Linked DNA regions of Homo sapiens: region 2 is linked to region 1. The links are contacts of gene promoters, found by promoter capture Hi-C in blood cells and fetal thymus (Javierre and others, 2016). All regions are on one chromosome and are shown on one strand. The core of a region is centred on a gene start or on the middle of the fragment in contact, and the rest is flanking DNA. Distances in the headings are between cores, read along the strand shown. Region 1 holds the start of SULT4A1 (sulfotransferase family 4A member 1). Region 2 holds the start of LOC105373059 (a long non-coding RNA gene).

The links. Contacts are between HindIII fragments. The CHiCAGO score rates a contact against its expected background, and 5 or more counts as called.
Region 2: a contact is called between a fragment that was not itself captured here and the fragment with the promoter of SULT4A1 in region 1, in 1 of 17 cell types (activated CD4 T cells). The highest score is 5.5, in activated CD4 T cells.

The regions. Positions count from the first base shown.
Region 1 is chr22:43,859,971-43,864,381 of GRCh38, forward strand. SULT4A1 (sulfotransferase family 4A member 1) reads right to left here and starts at 2,543. Exons shown (of 7, transcript NM_014351.4): 1 at 2,244-2,543. The coding sequence starts at 2,412. RefSeq lists an enhancer at 359-858. The HindIII fragment of the contact is 4,757 bases long and covers 1-4,123 here.
Region 2 is chr22:44,545,308-44,549,718 of GRCh38, forward strand. It overlaps LOC105373059 (a long non-coding RNA gene), which reads right to left and starts at 4,303. Exons shown (of 3, transcript XR_938300.2): 1 at 4,105-4,303. RefSeq lists an enhancer at 1-439. The HindIII fragment of the contact is 8,892 bases long and covers 1-4,411 here.

The DNA of each region.
Region 1 (4,411 bases), core at 1,293-3,792:
GAGCAAGCAGCACGGGGTTGTGGGAAAAAATACCGGACAGGAAGCGAAGGCAGGATCTAATTATCATTGCCTTAGCCACCAGAAAGCCCCCACCACCCCTTTGAACCCCAGTTTCTCCATCAGCAGAGGGTGGGAAGGGGCTGACAAGGGACCAGGCCCTTCCGGCTCTGACCACCTGCAAGTTCATTAGGATCTCCTACACCTGGGCACTGGAAATCCAAGGAGGCCCGTGGGTTCCCTGCCATGGCAGGTGAATGGGGCACCTGTTAGTCCTGGCTACTTGCCCCAACCCCAGCACCAACCATGTCTCCCCCATCAGACTGAGAGCTCACTAAGGACAGGCACCAGATGGGGCCCTCTCGGCTTCCCCAGCCCCTAGCAAAGCATCTGGGCACAACAGGTGTTCAGGGCTTAAAAGTCAGCATTAACCACGAGCCTTTCCAGCGTGTGTCTGGACGTGGGCTAAGCGTTCTCACCCGCCATTTTGCTCATCCTCACAGCCACACATCAGCGGGCCGAGGTGGTCTCTTCTCCCTCCGCAGAGACCACAGCTCAATGGGATTCTATGATCTGCCCAGGGTCACTCTGCTGGTAAGCCGCAAAACTGCATTCAAACCCAGGACTTCCAACTCCGAAGCCAGGTTCTTAATGTGTAAGCACTGATGCCTGCTACAAATCCATCCCCAGTAGCAGATGGAAGGAAAGGAAAAGAAAATATGAACTGGGCTACCAGAAGTCCACTTGGAGGGGCCTCAGAGAAGTGACACAAACCTCAAAATCCCTAAGTGGCTGAGACTTCCAGCATTTTAAAGCCTCCAAGAAAGAAGGCTAGGTCCCCCTCCTTCTTGGGCCCTCACGGTTTTCCAAGGGCAACGGAGCACCCATAAGGCAGGGGAGAGGCTGGCCGTGGACCGGGAGACCTAGCTAGACCTGACCTCTGTCCCTCAGCAACTGTGTGACTCCGAACAATTTGTGCCTTCTCTGAGCCTCTGAAAAAAAGGTGTAAGAGTCCCTCACAGATTAACAGCGATAGAGCACTTGGCCCGCAGGACTTAATGAGTGGCCACAGAAGCCAACGACACGCTTAGCCATTCCTAAAGCATTTTAGGTCCCACCCCATGCGGCGACTGGCATGTGCTCAAGATAGCAGCCCATCGAACGCTCTGTTCTCCAACCAACACCCTCCACTGAGAGTCCCTACTCCAATCTTCCTCAGAAGAATGTCAGAGACCTGCCCTCAGGTGTCTGGAACTCCATACAGCTACAACAGCCAAGCCTACAGCTTTTCCTGAAACTGCCCGACTGCTGGTCCGGCGTGACCTTAGAGCCAGACACCTTCTAAACCACGCTGTGATTGCCTCAAATACAGTGGCAACAAGGAAATCCCAGGGCATGTTTACAGAACAGGAAAGCTGCTACCTCCTTTCCCTAAAAACCTCAGATGGGGTACTATACAATCTCCTACCTCAGGTCTGGAAACAGACCAGCCTAGCTTTAATTCCCAGGTCAGCCACTCACCAGCTGAGTGACCTTGGACCAGCCTCTTCCCCTCTCTGAGCCTCTGTGCCTAGACTGTAAAGTGGGAATGACCACCACTAGCTCACACAGCTGTTATTGTGAAAGTGACGTCAGCTAATGCTGGGAAATGTGAATGCCCCAGGTCCTGCCTCGGTGATGGAGGCAGCCCTGAAACAAGAGAATGTACAAGCAAGGCACTCCAGGCGGGGACTGGTCCCATCCCCCACCCGGAGCCCAGGCTGGAAAGGAGGGACGTTACGTTTCCACGCTGAAAGCCCTGACGCCCATGTTATCTCCCTTCCCAGGTGAACACCAGGACTTTGCACTCATCAAAGGTTGGGCAGGATTCAGGAACAGAGAGGTTGAGTGACCTGTCCAAGGTCACACAGCCAGCCAGGTAAAGGGAGAAGCAGGGATGGGTGGCGGCCCTGGGCCCATCCTCCTGCAGCGCCGGCCAAATAGGCTCCATCTCCACGGAAGGGGCCGCTCCCGAAGGTCTCTGACCTTGGTTTCCCCAGATGAGAACCAAGCCCCTTCCCACCCCCACCCCACCCCACCCCGCCCCGCAGGGATCCGAGCATCGGGAGAGCGGTGGGCACGGCAGGGGCGGAGGCCAAGGGCGACCACCCGGCCCAGCAGAAGCCCCGGGCGCGGGCGCGGCGTCTACGCGGCCGCGCTGCAGGGCTGGGGCATGGCGTGGCGGGCGCGGTCGGCGCGGGGCTCACCGGACTTGGGGTAGGTGACGATCCACACGTCGCTGGGCCGCACCGGGAAGTTGGCGATCTCCTCCATCTTCCCGCGGCAGAAGGGCGGCAGCCGCACGCCATGGAACTCGAAGTACTTGCTCTCGAACTCCCCCGGGGTGCTGGGGGTCTCGGCCTCGCTCTCCGCCATGCCGCCGCCGTCGCCGTCGCCGCCGCCGCCTCCCGGCTCGCAGCCCGCACGCGCCCGCGCCCGCGCCCGCGCCCGCGCCCCGCACACGCTCGCGCCCCACCGGCGCGCGGCGGCAGCTCCGCAGGCGTGACGTCATGGCGCCGCCGACGCGCGGCGGAGGCTCCGCGGGTATGACGTCATGGCGCCGCCCGGCACGCGGCCGCGGCGCTGCACGGGCGTGACGTCATGGCGCCGCGGAGCCGCGTCCTCCCCGCCCCGCCCCCGGCCGGGGTCACCCACCCGCTGCCGGGGCTGACAGAGACCCTGGCCCGCGGTCTGCAGCCTCCTCAGTCGTGCGTGCGTTCATTCCGCTCATAGCTTCTGTCACTCAGCAAGCGCTCAACACAGACGCATGAGATACCCTGGCTGGAAGGCCCTGAAAGGTAGTCGTCCATTCAACACGTGCTTAGCGCGCTGCTGATCTGTGCCAGGCACTGGGCCAGGGCCCCGACACGCGTCAGGGTAGAAGCAAGCAGAAGCCTGGCCCTGTTGGAGCTTACATTGGTAAATAACCAAGATAATTTCAGGTAAATATTAGGTCCTATTAAAAATATGCGTCTTCGCCAGGCGCGGTGGATCACGCCTGTAATCTCAGCACTTTGAGAGGTCGAGCACGGGCGGATCTCCTGAGGTCAAGAGTTCGAGACCAACCTGGGTAAATGGTGAAACCGCATCTCTACAAACATACAAAAAAAAAAATTAGCAGTGAGCTGTGAGCTTGCACCACTGCACTCCAGTCTGGGCAACAGGACGAGATCTTCTAACAACAACAAAAAAAAAGTATGGGCCACCTAGTCCAGCCAAAAAAACAAAGTGCTTTTTTTTTGCTTTTTTTTTTTTTTTTTTTTTTTTGAGATGGAGTCTCGCTGTGTCGCCCAGGCTGGAGTGCAGGGGCGCGATCTCAGCTCACTGCAAGCTCCACCTCCCGGGTTTACGCCATTCTCCTGGCTCAGCCTCCCGAGTAGCTGGGACTACAGGCACATGCCACCATGCCTGGCTAATTTTTTGTATTTTTTGTTTGTTTGTTTTAGTAGAGACGGGGTTTCATCGTGTTAGCCAGGATGGTCTCAATCTCCTGACCTCGTGATCTGCCCACCTTGGCCTCCCAAAGTGCTGGGATTACAGGTGTGAACCACCTCGCCCAGCCAAAAAGTGCTTCTTAATATCCCATGAGTAGGGGAGGGGAGTGTTGGATTGCAAATTCCAGGACCCCAGATCTATGGAGAAAAATTACAAAAATATACATTTAGTAAGGCACTTCTTGTGCAAACTATAATTTGAGAGCAACCGAGTTCTAGAGATCTCAGTGCAACCCCTTGCCAGTCATGCACTCAACAGACATATATGAAGCACCTACTAACATGCCTGGGGAAGCACAAAGATGAAAACAACACAGCCTGCTCTCATTCTCTGCAGCCGAGCATCATCAGCTGTGTAAAGGAAAAGAATGATTCCTACCTCTAAGTAGTGTAGCCAGGAAGATGGAAGGAGTTTACACCAACAAGAATCTGGAGCAGAGTGGCTGGACGGGACCTATTCCTACTCTCTCCTTCTTACTGTAGAGTGAGACACGTGCATTCTGACACCAAAGACATACACATGGGCTGAGAAGCGCAGGCCATGTGTACATAGCAGACAGAGAGAGGAAACAGCAATTAATCCTGACTTGGGAAGCTTGTAGATGTCTTTCCAAAAAAGAAAGAGGACATTCCGAGCACCCAGCCTTTATTCAGAATAATTAGGCCAATGGCAAAAGGGCATCTAGCCAAAAGCTAGAGGGATTGAGTGAATGAATGAATATCCTGATGTTTCAGGTGAGGGTTCTCACTGTGGGAGAAGGAAAATGTAAGTGGGGAATGCGAGAAGGCAGGGAAGAACTCTATGGTATTGGATTGGAATTGGAGGTATTGACATGAGTTTATGATATTTTAAAATTCCTATTTCTTATATTTGCTGGAAA
Region 2 (4,411 bases), core at 1,272-3,771, 690 kb after region 1:
ATCCCACCTCCCTCGCTGTGACTGAGCGCAGGCCCCAAGGAAAGGCCAGCAAGAGGCCTAGAAACAGTATATGCAAATCAGCTACACCTGGCCCAGGTATCCCGCACGTGTTGTTTGCTCGTGGTCTCAGGTGCATGGGATCTGCTGCTGCTGGTTGTTGGTGGGGGCCCGGCCCAGCTCTCCACCTTGACCCTGGTCACCCTCAAGCCTGGGCTCAGGACTTCTCCCTGAGCTGTGCTCACTCTGGGTGCAGGGTATTGAGGGAAGAGCATGGGATTTGCCTTCAGGACCTGCAGTTTGGGTTCCAGCTCCCCCTTTAGCAGCCAGGTGACCTTGGGTGGGACTCTGAGTCTCAGTTTCCCCTTACCTGTGAAATGGGACTGATAGGATTTACCTAATCTGAGGTTTGATGTGATAAGTTGAGCACACCCTTGGCTCAGGCTCTGCTGACATTTGCCATTATTATTGGGACTGAACCGGCCTCACCCTTAGCCCAGGTTGGGTTCTCACTGAACCCCCAATCCTGCCCTGATTCTCTGGGGCTAGTAAGGGTGGAACTAGAAGGGGGACTTGGCCTGGGAGACATTCCTGAGAAAATGCCCCCAGGGAGCCTGGGTTTCCTTGGCTGGAGAGGCAGGGGGAGGAGAGGAAAGGGCACGCACTCATGAGCCCCTGATAAAGCATACCCTGTGTCAGGCGCCGGGGAAACAGATCGACCCTCACCTCTCGGCATCCCAGCAAGTCAGTGGGTCTTGTGTCCCCATTTGACGACTGAGAAGACAGAAGCCCAGAGCGGTGATCAGTTGCTAAAGGTCAGCTCCAGGCTGCCTTTCCTCCACACTTTGTGATCTTGGGCAAATTCCCTCACTTCTCTGAGCGTTGAGATCCTCATCTGTAAACAGGGGTGCTACCACCTAATTTCCAGGGTACTCAGGTCACTCAGACCTCGCCCATTAGACACGGAGCTACCCAAGGGCAGGCCATGTCTTTTTCTTTTTCTTTTGTTATTGAGACGGAATCTCAATCTGTCGCCCAGGCTGGAGTGCAGTGGCATGATCTCGGCTCACTGCAACCTCCGCCTCCCAGGTTCAAATGATTCTCCTGCCTCAGCCTACCAAGTAGCTGGGATGACAGGTGCCCACCACCACACCTGGCTAATTTTTGTATTTTTAGTAGAGACAGGGTTTCACCAGATTGGCCAGGCTGGTCTCAAACTCCTGACCTCAGGTGATCTGCCCACCTCAGCCTCCCAAAGTGCTGGGATTACAGGCAGGAGCTGCCGTGCCCAGCTTGTCTTTTTCAACTCTGAAGTCCAGTCCGGGGTCACTCTCAGGCATGTGGATCGCTCTGCATGCCTGGGATCCATTCTGTGAACTACAGATCCATGTCACTCCCTTCTTAATCCCTGTCAACAGCTCCATAGGACTCCAGGGCTGAGTCCAAACTCATAGTCCTGATATTCAAAGCTCTCCAGGACCCAGCCTCTGCTTAGATCTGCAGTCCCATGTCCTGTCCTGCTCACACTCATGCCCTGTGCCCTTGCAACCTTCAAGAGCTTGGCCCCTGCTTGTCCCTGCCAGGGATGTTTTTCAGTCACCTCCTACACCTGGTGAACTCCTACTCAACCTTTAGAACCCAGCTTGGACATACCCTTTCCTGCATGCCCGACCTGGCTGTCCTTCCCAACCTGGACTCCCATGCCCCCTTGTTGCTCTCTGTCCGCCTGTTGCTTTCTAGCTGTCTGGACGTCGGTCCCCACCTCACACTGAGATAGCTCAGGATTGTTCCTGTCTCATGTCTGTGGCCCAGGGCCTGGGCCACCTGCCCTCAGCATTCATTAAGCTCCATAAACATGAAAGAAGTGACCGGGCTCAGGCCCTTGGCTGAGAAGCCGAGAAGACTCAAGGCTGCCTCGATCTCTGCTCCCTGAAAGCGCCGGCCTCCCTGGGCTCCTCTTCGGGCCCTGGCCTAGCAAAGGCAGCTCATGAGGAAACAGCCGGGGGCCCCTCTGCCCTGGCAGCTGTGAGGCTGAATAACGTATCAGCCTTTTCCTGGGCACGTGGGTAAAATATTTCAATGGAGACGAGATTGTTCATCAAAGTTGGCATCACGCAGAGTTTTGCTTTGCTCAGGGCACCAAGAGAGTTGGCCTTTCTTAAAAATAGAGGTATCAGTATCGGCTCTCCATCCAGCCCAAGAGGTTGGTTTCAAATGCAAATCCCATCCTTGTACCTCCCGCAGGCCCCGGAAACCCTTCAGTTCCGTTGTCCAGGTCAGGGGTAAAGCCCAAGCTCCTGCTGCTGCCTGCCATGGGTGGTGGGTAACTGCGCCTGCAGGACCCAGCCCTGCCTGGCTCCCAGGCCCCTGCCCTCCCTGAGGAAGTGACATTTGATCTGAGACAAGCAGAATTTTTTTCCTTTTTTTTTTTGAGATGAAACCTTGCTCTGTCACCCAGGCTGGAGTGCAGTGGGGTGATCTCGGTTCACTGCAACCTCTGCCTCCTGGGTTCAAGTGATTCTCCTGCCTCAGCCTCCCAAGCAGCTGGGATTACAGGCACCACCATGCCTAGCTACGTTTTGTATTTTTAGTAGAGACGGAGTTTCACCATGTTGGCCAGGCTGGTCTCGAACTCCTGACTCATCCACCCGCCTCCACCTCCCAAAGTGCTGGGATTACAGGCGTAAGCCACTGCATCCCACCAGAGATAAGCAGAACTTAATCCCCAGAAAAGGGAAAGGAAGAACATTCCAAGCAGAGGGGAGAGAATGGGCAAGGGCCCTGAGGCGGACAAAACCATTCACTGGAAGCATCGCTCATCTTCCCAGGTCCGAGGAAGACTCTGACCCGCAGCCCCCCTTGCACTAAGGTAGGGCCATGTTCCTGAGCTCTGCCCAATGGGATAGGGTGGTCTGCACAGCCAGGCCATGCCCAGCTCTCTCCTCCTCCTCCTCCTCACTGGAGAACATGAAAGTGGCCTGGCTGGGTCCCTGAGTCACTGTATGGAGGACACCACCCAGGAGAGTTACCGGCTTGTGTTAAACCTTTCGTGAGAAAGCAAGCAACTGTGGCCGGGTGTGGTGGCTCACCCTATAATCCCAGCACTTTGGGAGGCTGAGGCGGGCAGATCACCTGAGGTCGGGAGTTGGAGACCAGCCTGACCAACATGGAGAAACCCCGTGTCTACTAAAAATACAAAATTAGCTGGGCGTGGTGGTGCATGCCTGTAATCTCAGCTATTCGGGAGGCTGAGGCAGGAGAATCGCTTGAACCTGGGAGGCGGAGGTTGCAGTGAGCCGAGATCTCACCATTGCATTCCAGCCTGGGTGACAAGAGCAAAACTCCATGTCAAAAAAATAAAATAAAATAAATTGCAAAATGTCTCTTTAACAACTCATCTAGAGTCCATGTTGTACCAATATTTTGGATATATTGAGTTAAATAAAATGTATTATTAAAATACTTTTACCTATTTCTTTTCTAAACGTGGCTGCTAGAAAACTTTAGCCACAAACTCTGTATGTGGCTCAAATTCCATGTCTATTATAGTGCTGGTCTAATCCACCCACTTTATTTTACAGATGGGAAAAGTAAAACACAGAGAGGTTAATGAACTTGGTCAAGGTCACACAGAGGCGTGAGAGTTTGGAGTTCTCTGTGAAGCTGAGCTGCTTCACAGGTTTACAGAAAAAATCTGAAGTTCCACTCATGGCAAAGAAAACTTCTGAGCGGTAGGCCTCTCTTGCTGGGATTGAAAGCAACTGAGGCTGAGCGATCTGCAGGTGTCTGCCTGAGAACAAGGGTGGCTTCTCCCACCAACGGGCTTCTTAGAGAAAGGAGAAACACAGAGGTGGTCAGCAGTGAGGACCATGGGCCTCAAGGCAGTGAGAGCCCGGCTCGGGCCCCAGGCCGTAACTCATATCTGAGGATCACAGAGACAGGAGGGAGCAGACGTTGACCCTCTCCTTCCCCACCTTCACTCCCCACAGCAGTAAATTAGAGATCAGGTGGCGACTTGCCGAGTTGATGCAAGAATGCAGTGTGATGTCTGTTACCGACCAGGTCAGAACCCAGCTCAAACTGACTTAAGGAAAAAGTGCAACTTACTGGCTCCTAAAATGCAGAGGGCCCTGGATTGACCAGCTTCAGGCATGGCTTGACCCAGATTCTCTTGTGATGCCAACAGGGTCTCCCCTTCCTTCACCCTGACAGGGTCAGGAGAATCGCTTGAACCCAGGAGCAGAGGTTGCCGAGAGCCGAGATAGTACCACTGCACTCCACCCTGGGTGACAGGGTGAAACTCAGGCTGAAAAAGAAAAGAAAAAGAATCAATCATCAGTGTTCACATCGCAATGACTATGAAAATGCTATTCACAGCTGATCGCAGAGTACACTATGCTATGTACACTTCCTT